Linked DNA regions of Homo sapiens: region 2 is linked to region 1. The links are contacts of gene promoters, found by promoter capture Hi-C in human tissues and cell types (Jung and others, 2019). All regions are on one chromosome and are shown on one strand. The core of a region is centred on a gene start or on the middle of the fragment in contact, and the rest is flanking DNA. Distances in the headings are between cores, read along the strand shown. Region 1 holds the start of TUBD1 (tubulin delta 1). Region 2 overlaps LOC105371850 (a long non-coding RNA gene).

Region 1 (4,307 bases), core at 953-3,452:
AGGAATGGGGTTTAAAAACCATGTGGAAGGCCTGGCTTTGAAGGGGTTGGTTAGATCAGAGTAAAGGAGAGGACTGTGGGCCACACCTACCTCCATTCTCCTCCTCACTGAAGAATCTTTCTTTGCAAGATGCTTGATATGCCTCATTCTCTCTCATAGAGCAGAGTCCCTGGGAACTGTGTGAGTCACTAAGCAAAGCATCAAAAACTTCAAAACCAATCTGATTGCCACACTGACCAAGTTGCACTGTTACAATTGACATGCTGAGCCACAAACTAGGTGTATTACCTCTAAAAACAACCTGTAATCGAAAAAAATACGCTTTGAGAACCACTACATTACTAATAAGAACAAATAAAATGCCATGTATGTTAATTATACATCAATAAAAAGTCTTTTTTCCCCCCTGAGACGGAGTCTTGTTCTGTCACCCAGGCTAGAGTGCAGTGGCATGTTCTCGGCTTAATGCAACCTCCGCCTCCCAGGTTCAAGCGATTCTCCTGCCTCAGCCTCCCGAGTAGCTGGGATTACAGGCACGTGCCACCACGCCTGGCTAATTTTTGTATTCTTAGTAGAGATGGGGTTTCACCATGTTGGCCAGGTTGGTCTTGAACTCTTGACCTCGTGATCCACCTCCACCTACCTCAGCCTCCCAAAGTGCTGGGATTACAGGCTTGAGCCACCACGCCCGGCCCAAAAAGTCATTTTAAAATGCCACATACGTATATAATATTGGAGATAGAACAGCTGTGTTGTCTAAGGAGCTAGTCATTCAAGGAAGTTCTCATACTCTCTACATGGTTTTGGGATTTGTGATTTACTGTACCTGAATCCATTCATACACAGCTCAATAGTTTCCAAAATCTGATTTGTAATCACTTTTTTCCTAAACATATGTTTAAAACAAAACATTCTCCTCAGTTGAGGAGTGATAAAAGAAAAAAAGAGGCTGGGTGCGTGGCTCACACCTGTAATCCCAGCATTTTGGGAGGCTGAGTTGGGAGAATCACGTGAGCCTGGCTGTTCCAGACCTGGTCAACATGGCAAAACCCTGTTTGTACAAAAAATACAACCATTAGCTTGGCGTGGTGGTGTGCGCCTGCAGTCCCAGCTACTCGGGAGGCTGAGGTGGGAGGATCCCCTGAGCCTGGGAGGTCCAGGCTGCAGTGAGCCAAGATCTTGCCACCGCACTCCAGCCTGGGTGACAAAGTGACATCCTCCTGTCTCCAGAAAAAAAAAAAATTAAAATTAAAAAAATAAAAACAAGACAAAACAAATGCTGATTGAAGAAATTAGTAGTACCACCCTTCACACCACATGAACATGTAGAACACAGAAGTGTGCTCAACATTGTACATTCAATTAACATTAATTTTCTCTCTTCTAAATAATAGCTTACGCTTTCTCCACTAGTCTAGCCTGGTAACTTTAGTAAGACCTGTAAGAAAGATTTTGTGTTTAGCTCAGGTAGGACAGCAAGAAAGATGCAGCTTGGAGAAAGAAAACCAGATGAAATATTAACCGGGCGCAATGGCTCATGCCTGTAATCCCAGTACTTTGGGAGGCCGAGGCGGGAGGATCACCTGAGCCCAGGGATTCCAGACCAGCCTGGGCAACACAGCGAGACCCTGTCTCCATTTGAAAAAGAAAGAAAGCAAAAGAAACATTAGAGCAGTTCCTCATTATTTTTACCTAGGAAAAGACAAGTTTTGATAAAGACTTCACATCAGGTCTATGCAGCACTGGAAATGAGCCGTGGGTTGTGAGACAGACTCTGTGCTTAAAATGTCAAACCGGCAAAGTAGGTTTATTATTATCCTCATTTTACAGATAAGGAAACTGAGGCTCTGAAAGGTTATTGACTTTTCCAAGGCCACAGAACTAGTAAAGAGCAAAGCCAAAAGGTCCCCCGTTCCCCACGGGCCCCAGGAGTTCTCCACACGTAACCCGACTCACCGCCAGACGCCGACCAGCGCTTCTGTCCGGTTCAAACTTCGGACCAACCTACTCACCATGCGCATGCTCACTTTCAAAACGAAAAACTTACTGAGAACAAATGCGCATGTTCCATAAACGGAGAGTTTTGTTGTGTATATATTTTTTCCTATTCAGAAAGATTAATTACGCATGTTCAATTTCAATTTACGAACTTCAGATATGGTACGCATGCTCACTGTCCACCGAACGCTCCAGCTGACAATGCGCATGCTCTAGTCCTCCAAGCGCGACTTCGGCTGGTGTTTTGCGCATGTTTCTGCCAGCGCCTGGATCCTGCCGATAGTTCTGCGCATGTCCACTGCCCACTGTTTGGCTTCACGGAACCCTGTACGCATGCTCCTACGCTGAACTTTAGGAGCCAGTCTAAGGCCTAGGCGCAGACGCACTGAGCCTAAGCAGCCGGTGATGGCGGCAGCGGCTGTGGTGGCTGCGGCGGGTCCGGGCCCATGAGGCGACGAAGGAGGCGGGACGGCTTTTACCCAGCCCCGGACTTCCGAGACAGGGAAGCTGAGGACATGGCAGGAGTGTTTGACATAGACCTGGACCAGCCAGAGGACGCGGGCTCTGAGGATGAGCTGGAGGAGGGGGTGAGGCCCGGGGTCCCCGGGGGCCCGAGGTGACAGGGCCGGGGCGGCGGCGCGGGCTCAGGAAGCGCGGTGTGTCCTAGAGCGTGGAGACCCAGGGGGGCTCCTGAGGAGCTGAGGGTCGCGCGGCCTGAGACAGGGGAGCGGGCGGGGCGGTCATGGCCCTAGGTGTGAGGCCTCTGCGGGGCTCGCAGGTGCAGGTCGCACCCTTAGCCCCAGGTCAGCGCAGCCCCGAGCGATCTGAAGAGGGAAAGAGAACGGGCGCGTGGTCGATTCCTCGAGCTGTTGGACTTGAGTGTGGCGGGGAGCGGGTGGCGTGAGCGTGTGTTGGGGAGACGGGGGCTGCTCTTGCTGGGTGTCCCGTAAGTGCAGGCGAAGTGTGGAGGGTTTCCCTTCGAGTCTAGAATTTCAAGTATTGAATCTTCAGACCTCCCACAACCACCTCTCTTCTCGGCCTGTCGCTTCTCTCCTAGGAAGCGCTCAGCTGTTAGAAGTGACAGCTGAAAACTTCTGTCGGGAGTAGCACTGCCGCTGCTGTTACAGCCACCAGGAGTTTTATTTCGGGAGCAAGGGGGCTCTGCTGCATCTTCCAATCTTCCAGGGTTTGTTTGTTTGCTTTTTTTTTTTTACCCCCTTCCGTGTGACTTTTTAAAATAAGCATTTATAAGGACACACGGCACTTGTAACCTTTCCCCAAGTTGAAGATGTCTGTATTTTTTTCAGAATAATTAATGTAATTTTGAGGTGGAAAAAAAAACCAAAAACCAGTTGACAGCCTTGATTTAGCTTGCCAGAAATAAGTTGCCTGAACAGAGACTTGTGAATGGTGGTATGAGGGCTTTCCTTGCTGTAATTTAGGGTGCTAAATTTAGAATTGTATTTCCTAATGCATAGCTTGGTTTCACCCTGCTGGCTTAGTGGTTTGTTAATCTTTATGGAATAACTTTTTTTTTCCCTAGATAAATTTATCAAAAAATGACAAATTGCACCTGAAGTTCAAAAATGTTGTCATACTAAATCACTGATCCTGGACCAAATGATCATCAGTTGATAACCTCTTGGTAGTTTAGCATCTAAATTCCAATGTCTAGTTGAATACATGGGTTAATGACGTCAGATGTTTGCTCTAATTACACAGGGGCTTCCTTTCCCTTGCCTCACCCTCAGTTTTTCTCCTCTGGCACCTGCCCTACTGTTGACAAAAGATTGAGATGATGTATATAAAGAATTTTGAACACTTTAAGAAACTAAGTGGCCTAAAATAATACTGTTCTTCTTGTTTGTTTCTTTTGTTTTGTTTTGAGTTGGGTCTCACTCTATCACCCAGACTGGAGTGCAATGGTGCGATCTCAGCTCACTGCAATCTCAGCCTCCTGGGTTTAAGCGATTGTCATGGCTCAGCCTCCCAAGTAGCTAGGATTACAGGCATGCGCCACCACATCTGGCTAATTTTTGTATTTTTAGTAGAGACAGGGTTTCACCATATTGGCCAGGCTGTTCTCGGACTCCTGACCTCAAATGATCCACCAGCCTCGGCCTCCCAAAATGCTGGGATTATAGGCATAAACCACCATACCTGACCAATACTGTTCTTTTCATAATCAAATAAGACTAAATCAAAATCACACGGTTTAGAAAGTGGGTATTGAGTTGTGTGCTTTTTCTTTTCTTTTCTTTTCTTTTCTTTCTTTCTGGTTTTTTTGTTTTGTTTTGTTTTTGAGACAG
Region 2 (4,307 bases), core at 1,184-3,683, 510 kb after region 1:
AAACCTTTAGTTCCTCCTTTGCCCAGATTTCTACAAGAAGACAATCTCGTTTCCTAAAAGAACTAGTTCTAGGAGAAACCGTCTTTGAGAGAGGAGATTTGGCATAATGAGACTCAACTTTTCAATTATCTTTGTATGACCTACTACACTAAAGGCATCTTGAAGCTATGTATGGTTTATAGGGAAATTGTAGAAGAGTGCACCTCAGCCTCCTTGGAACAAAAGAGACTGGGATTAGCTGCCTTGAAGAACCATCATTGTGTTCCCAGAGTTCAAATTCTAAAAATAGTGGCTGCTGAGAAACAACCTTCTCATCTTTCCTGTATGAAAAGGACACTTAAATAGAAGGCTGGTCTTTTTACTTAACAGTGTCACAATCTCCAAACAACCAAGGAGTAATCACTACTAAATGTCCCATTTTAGAAGCTGTTTGGGTGGGTGCGATGACTCCACGCCTGTAATCCCAGCACTTTGGGAGGCCGAGGCAGGCGGATCTCTTGAGGTGAGGAATTGGAGACCAGTCTGGCCAACTTGGTGAAACCCTCGTCTCTACTAAAAATACAAAAATTAGCCGGTATGGTGCTGCACAGCTACTCGGGAGGCTGAAGCACAAGAATTGCCTGAACCAGGGAGGTAGAGGCTGCAGTGACCCACGATCATGCCACTGCACTCCAGCCTAGGCGACAGAGCAAAACTGTTTCAAAAATAAAAAGAACAAAAAATAGAAGCTGTTAGTTTTTTGTTTTTGTTTTTGTTTTTGAGACAGAGTTTCGCTCTGTCACCCAGGCTGGAGTGCAGTGGCTCAATCTCGGCTCACCACAGCTTCCACCTCCTGGGTTCAAGCAACTCTCCTGTCTCAGCCTCCCAAGTAGCTGGGATTACAGGCACACACCTCCAAGCCAACCTAATTTTTTTTGTATTGTAGTAGAGATGGGGTTTCACCGTGTTGCCCAGGCTGGTCTCGAACTCCTGAGCTCAGACAGTCCACCCGCCTCAACCTCCCAAAGTGCTAGGATTACAGGCATGAGCCACTGTGCCTGGCTGAAGCTGTTAGTATTTTTAAAATCATGCGGTTGAATTGCTTGAGCCCAAGAATTCGAGACCAGCATGGGCAACATATCAAAACCCCATCGCTACAAAAATACAAAAATTAGCCAGGCCTAGTGGCATGTTGCCTATAGTCCCAGCTGCTCAAGAGGCTAAGGTGGGAGGATCACCTGAGCCTGGGGAGGTGGAGGCTGCAGTGAATCATGATCACACCACTGCATTCCTGCCTGGGCAACAGAGTGAGATCCTGTCTCAAAACATAAAATAAAATTAAATAAATAAATAAAAGGCACCTCAGGGCCATTTAATAAATTCATCCGTAACCATCGTGCATAGAATTTTATTCTTTCAAAGGTTATTATTTGGCTGGGTGCAGAAGCTCACTCCTGTAATCCAGCACTTTGGGAGGCCAGTGTGGGAGGATTGCTTGAGCCCCAGAGTTGAGACCAGCCTGGGAAACATAGTTAGACGCCACCTCTCCAAAATGTCTTTTTTAAATTTAGCTAGGTGTACTGGTGCACACCTGTATTCTCAGCTACTTGGGAGGCTGAGTTGGGAGGATCACTTGAGTCCAGGAGGTCAAGGCTGCAGAGAGCCGTGATCATACCACTGTACCCCAGCCTGGGTGACAGTGCAAGACCTTGTCTCAAAAAAAAAAAAAAAAAAAAAAGCTTATTATTCTGAAAAAAAAAATTTTTTTTTGGAGACAGTCTTGTTCTTGTCATCCAGGGACCATCTCAGCTCACTGCAACCTCCGCCTCCTGGGTTCAAGCGATTCTCCTGCCTCAGCCTCCCAAATAGCTGGGACTACAGGCCCATGCCACCATGCCCAGCTAATTGTTGTATGTTTAGTAGAGAAAGGGTTTTGCCATGTTGCTCAAGCTGGTCTCAAACTCCTGGCCTCAAGTGATCCACCCTCCTCAGCCTCCTAAAGTGCTGGGATCACAGGCGTGTGCCACTGCACCTGGCCCATTATTCTGAAATTCTACATTGAAGTTCTTCTTTTGCTTTTTTTTCTCTTTTTTGAGACAGAGACTTGCTCTGTCACCCAGGCTGGAGTGCAATGGCATGACCTCGGCTCACTGTAATCTCCACCTCCCAGGTTCAAGCGATTCTCCTGCCTCAGCCTCCTGAGTAGCTGTGATTACAGGCACGCGCCACCACGCCCAGCTAATTTTTGTATTTTTAGTAGAGACAGGGTTTCACCATGTTGATCAAGCTGGTCTTAAACTCCTGACCTCGTGATCCACCTGCCTCAGCCTCCCAAAGTACTGGGATTACAGACATGAGCCACTGCGCCTGGCCTTTCTTTCTTTCTTTCTTTCTTTTTTCAAACTCCATTTTGTAAGGTTGATCAGTTGCTCAAAGACTGACATGCTAATCAAATTTCAGTGAAACAGAGGACTTTTGTTTCTGATCATGATGGAGTTAAAAGGGACCAGATTAACCCTTCTGCCATACACACCTAGGAAGCTAGACAAAACATACAGAACAACCGTTTTCAGATGTTGGACAATTGGCAGTGCAGAACTGACGTCATTGAGATAAAGAAAACAAATGAGGTAAATTCTGTGATTTTCCTAGCTTTTTGCCTAGGGGTGCAATCTGGATCATAAAATCAGAATGTGGCAATCTCACTGAGGACGCACAGATTGGAGTTCATGGAACCTGAGGCAGCTGTGGAAGTTGCTGTGCAAAATTCCAAAAAGGAAGAAGGTATGCAAAAACCTTCAGAAATTTGCATAGGATCTTGAGTTTTTTCTGAATATTAAGGTAGCCATAAGTAGAGCTAAGTTCCAGGAGACTGAGCAAAGAACAATTGAAGAGATGTAACTGAACAATTCCCAGAGCTAGGAAACATACAAATTATGACCAATTGGAGTAGAAATAACTTAGTGACCTCCCAAGATGTTCAGGAGAGACTGCAGCAGAGGTAAACCTTACTAAAAGGTCTAAACTAGGTCTAGAGTAAAGTACACGCTAGAACTGCTTAATGAAGCTTAAAAACTAGCCTCAAAAACATCAAACTAATCCAAAAGTAAGTTAACAATCTGGTACAACAAAGACCTATACTCTTTAAGGGAAGACTACAAAATACAGACATTCAACAATGTGACATCCACATTAGCCAGGTGTGGTGGTCCATGCCTGTAATCCCAGCTACTCAGGAGGCTGAGGCAGAAGAATTGCTTGAACCCAGGAGGCGGAGGTTACAGTGAGCCGAGATTAAGCCACTGTGCTCCAGCCTGGGCGACAGAGCAAGCCTCTGTCTCAAAAAAAAAAAAAAAAAAAAAAAAAGCAGAAACAGGCCGGGTGCAGTGGCTCACGCATGTAATTCCAGCACTTTGGGAGGCCAAGGCAGGCGGATTGCCTGAGGTCAGGAGTTCGAGACCAGCCTGGCCAACATGGTGAAACCTCGTCTCTACTAAAAATATAAAAATCAGCTGGGCGTGGGGGTGAGCGCCTATAGTCCCAGCTACTGGGAAGGCTAAGGCAGGATAATTGCTTGAACCTGGGAGGTGGAGATTGCAGTGAGCTGAGATGTCGCCACTGCACTCCAGCCTGGGGTACAGAGCGAGACTCCATCTCAAAAAGAAAAAGAAAGAAAAAGAAAAACAATGTGACATCCTGAGATCCAATAAAAAATTACTATTTATACCAAGAAGCAGGGGGGAAAAATCAGGTGACAGACATGGACCCAGAAATGACAGAAATTATGGAATTAGCAGATAAGAATGATGAAACAGCTATTATAACTATATTTAAAGAAAAACATGAATATAATGAGGAAAGAAGAAAAAAGAACCAGATGGAACTTCTAGTGGTGAAAAATACAGTATCTGAACTTGTAACCACATCGTATCAATCTGGCTCAACTTTTTTTTTTGAGACAGAGTCTCGCTCTGTCCCCCAGGCTGGAGTGCAGTGGCACGATCTTGGCTCACTGCAAGCTCTGCCTCCCGGGTTCAATCGATTTTCCTGCCTCCGCCTCCCAAGTAGCTGGGATTATAGGTGCATGCCACCATGCCCAGCTAATTTTTGTATTTTTAGTAGAGATGGGGTTTCACCATGTTGGCCAGGCTGGTCTTCAACTCCTGACCTCAAATGATCTGCCCACCTCACCCTCCCAAAGTGCTGGGATTACAGGCATGAGCCACCATGCCCGGCCAATCTGGCTCAACTTTTATATAACAAAGTTGTGAGTTTTCAGTTGCTATGGATTCCCCAGGTTGAAGGTTATGTAACCTGAGCATGCCCAG

The links. The method cuts DNA at HindIII sites, captures the fragments that hold promoters and counts their contacts. A contact is called where the count stands out against the background at its distance.
Region 2: a fragment that was not itself captured here is called in contact with the fragment with the promoter of TUBD1 in region 1 in 1 of the 25 tissues and cell types used here (dorsolateral prefrontal cortex).

What each region holds. Positions count from the first base shown.
Region 1 is chr17:59,890,741-59,895,047 of GRCh38, forward strand. TUBD1 (tubulin delta 1) reads right to left here and starts at 2,203. Exons shown (of 9, transcript NM_016261.4): 1 at 1,957-2,203; 2 at 91-301. The coding sequence starts at 262. RPS6KB1 (ribosomal protein S6 kinase B1) reads left to right here and starts at 2,381. Exons shown (of 15, transcript NM_003161.4): 1 at 2,381-2,585. The coding sequence starts at 2,445. RefSeq lists an enhancer at 2,129-2,408 and a silencer at 2,599-2,798. The HindIII fragment of the contact is 25,982 bases long and covers 1-4,307 here.
Region 2 is chr17:60,404,462-60,408,768 of GRCh38, forward strand. All of the region lies in intron 2 of LOC105371850 (a long non-coding RNA gene), which reads right to left. It also overlaps a transcript of USP32 not described here. Among named protein-coding and RNA genes, the nearest start is that of USP32, 14 kb to the left of the region's middle. The HindIII fragment of the contact is 3,269 bases long and covers 800-4,068 here.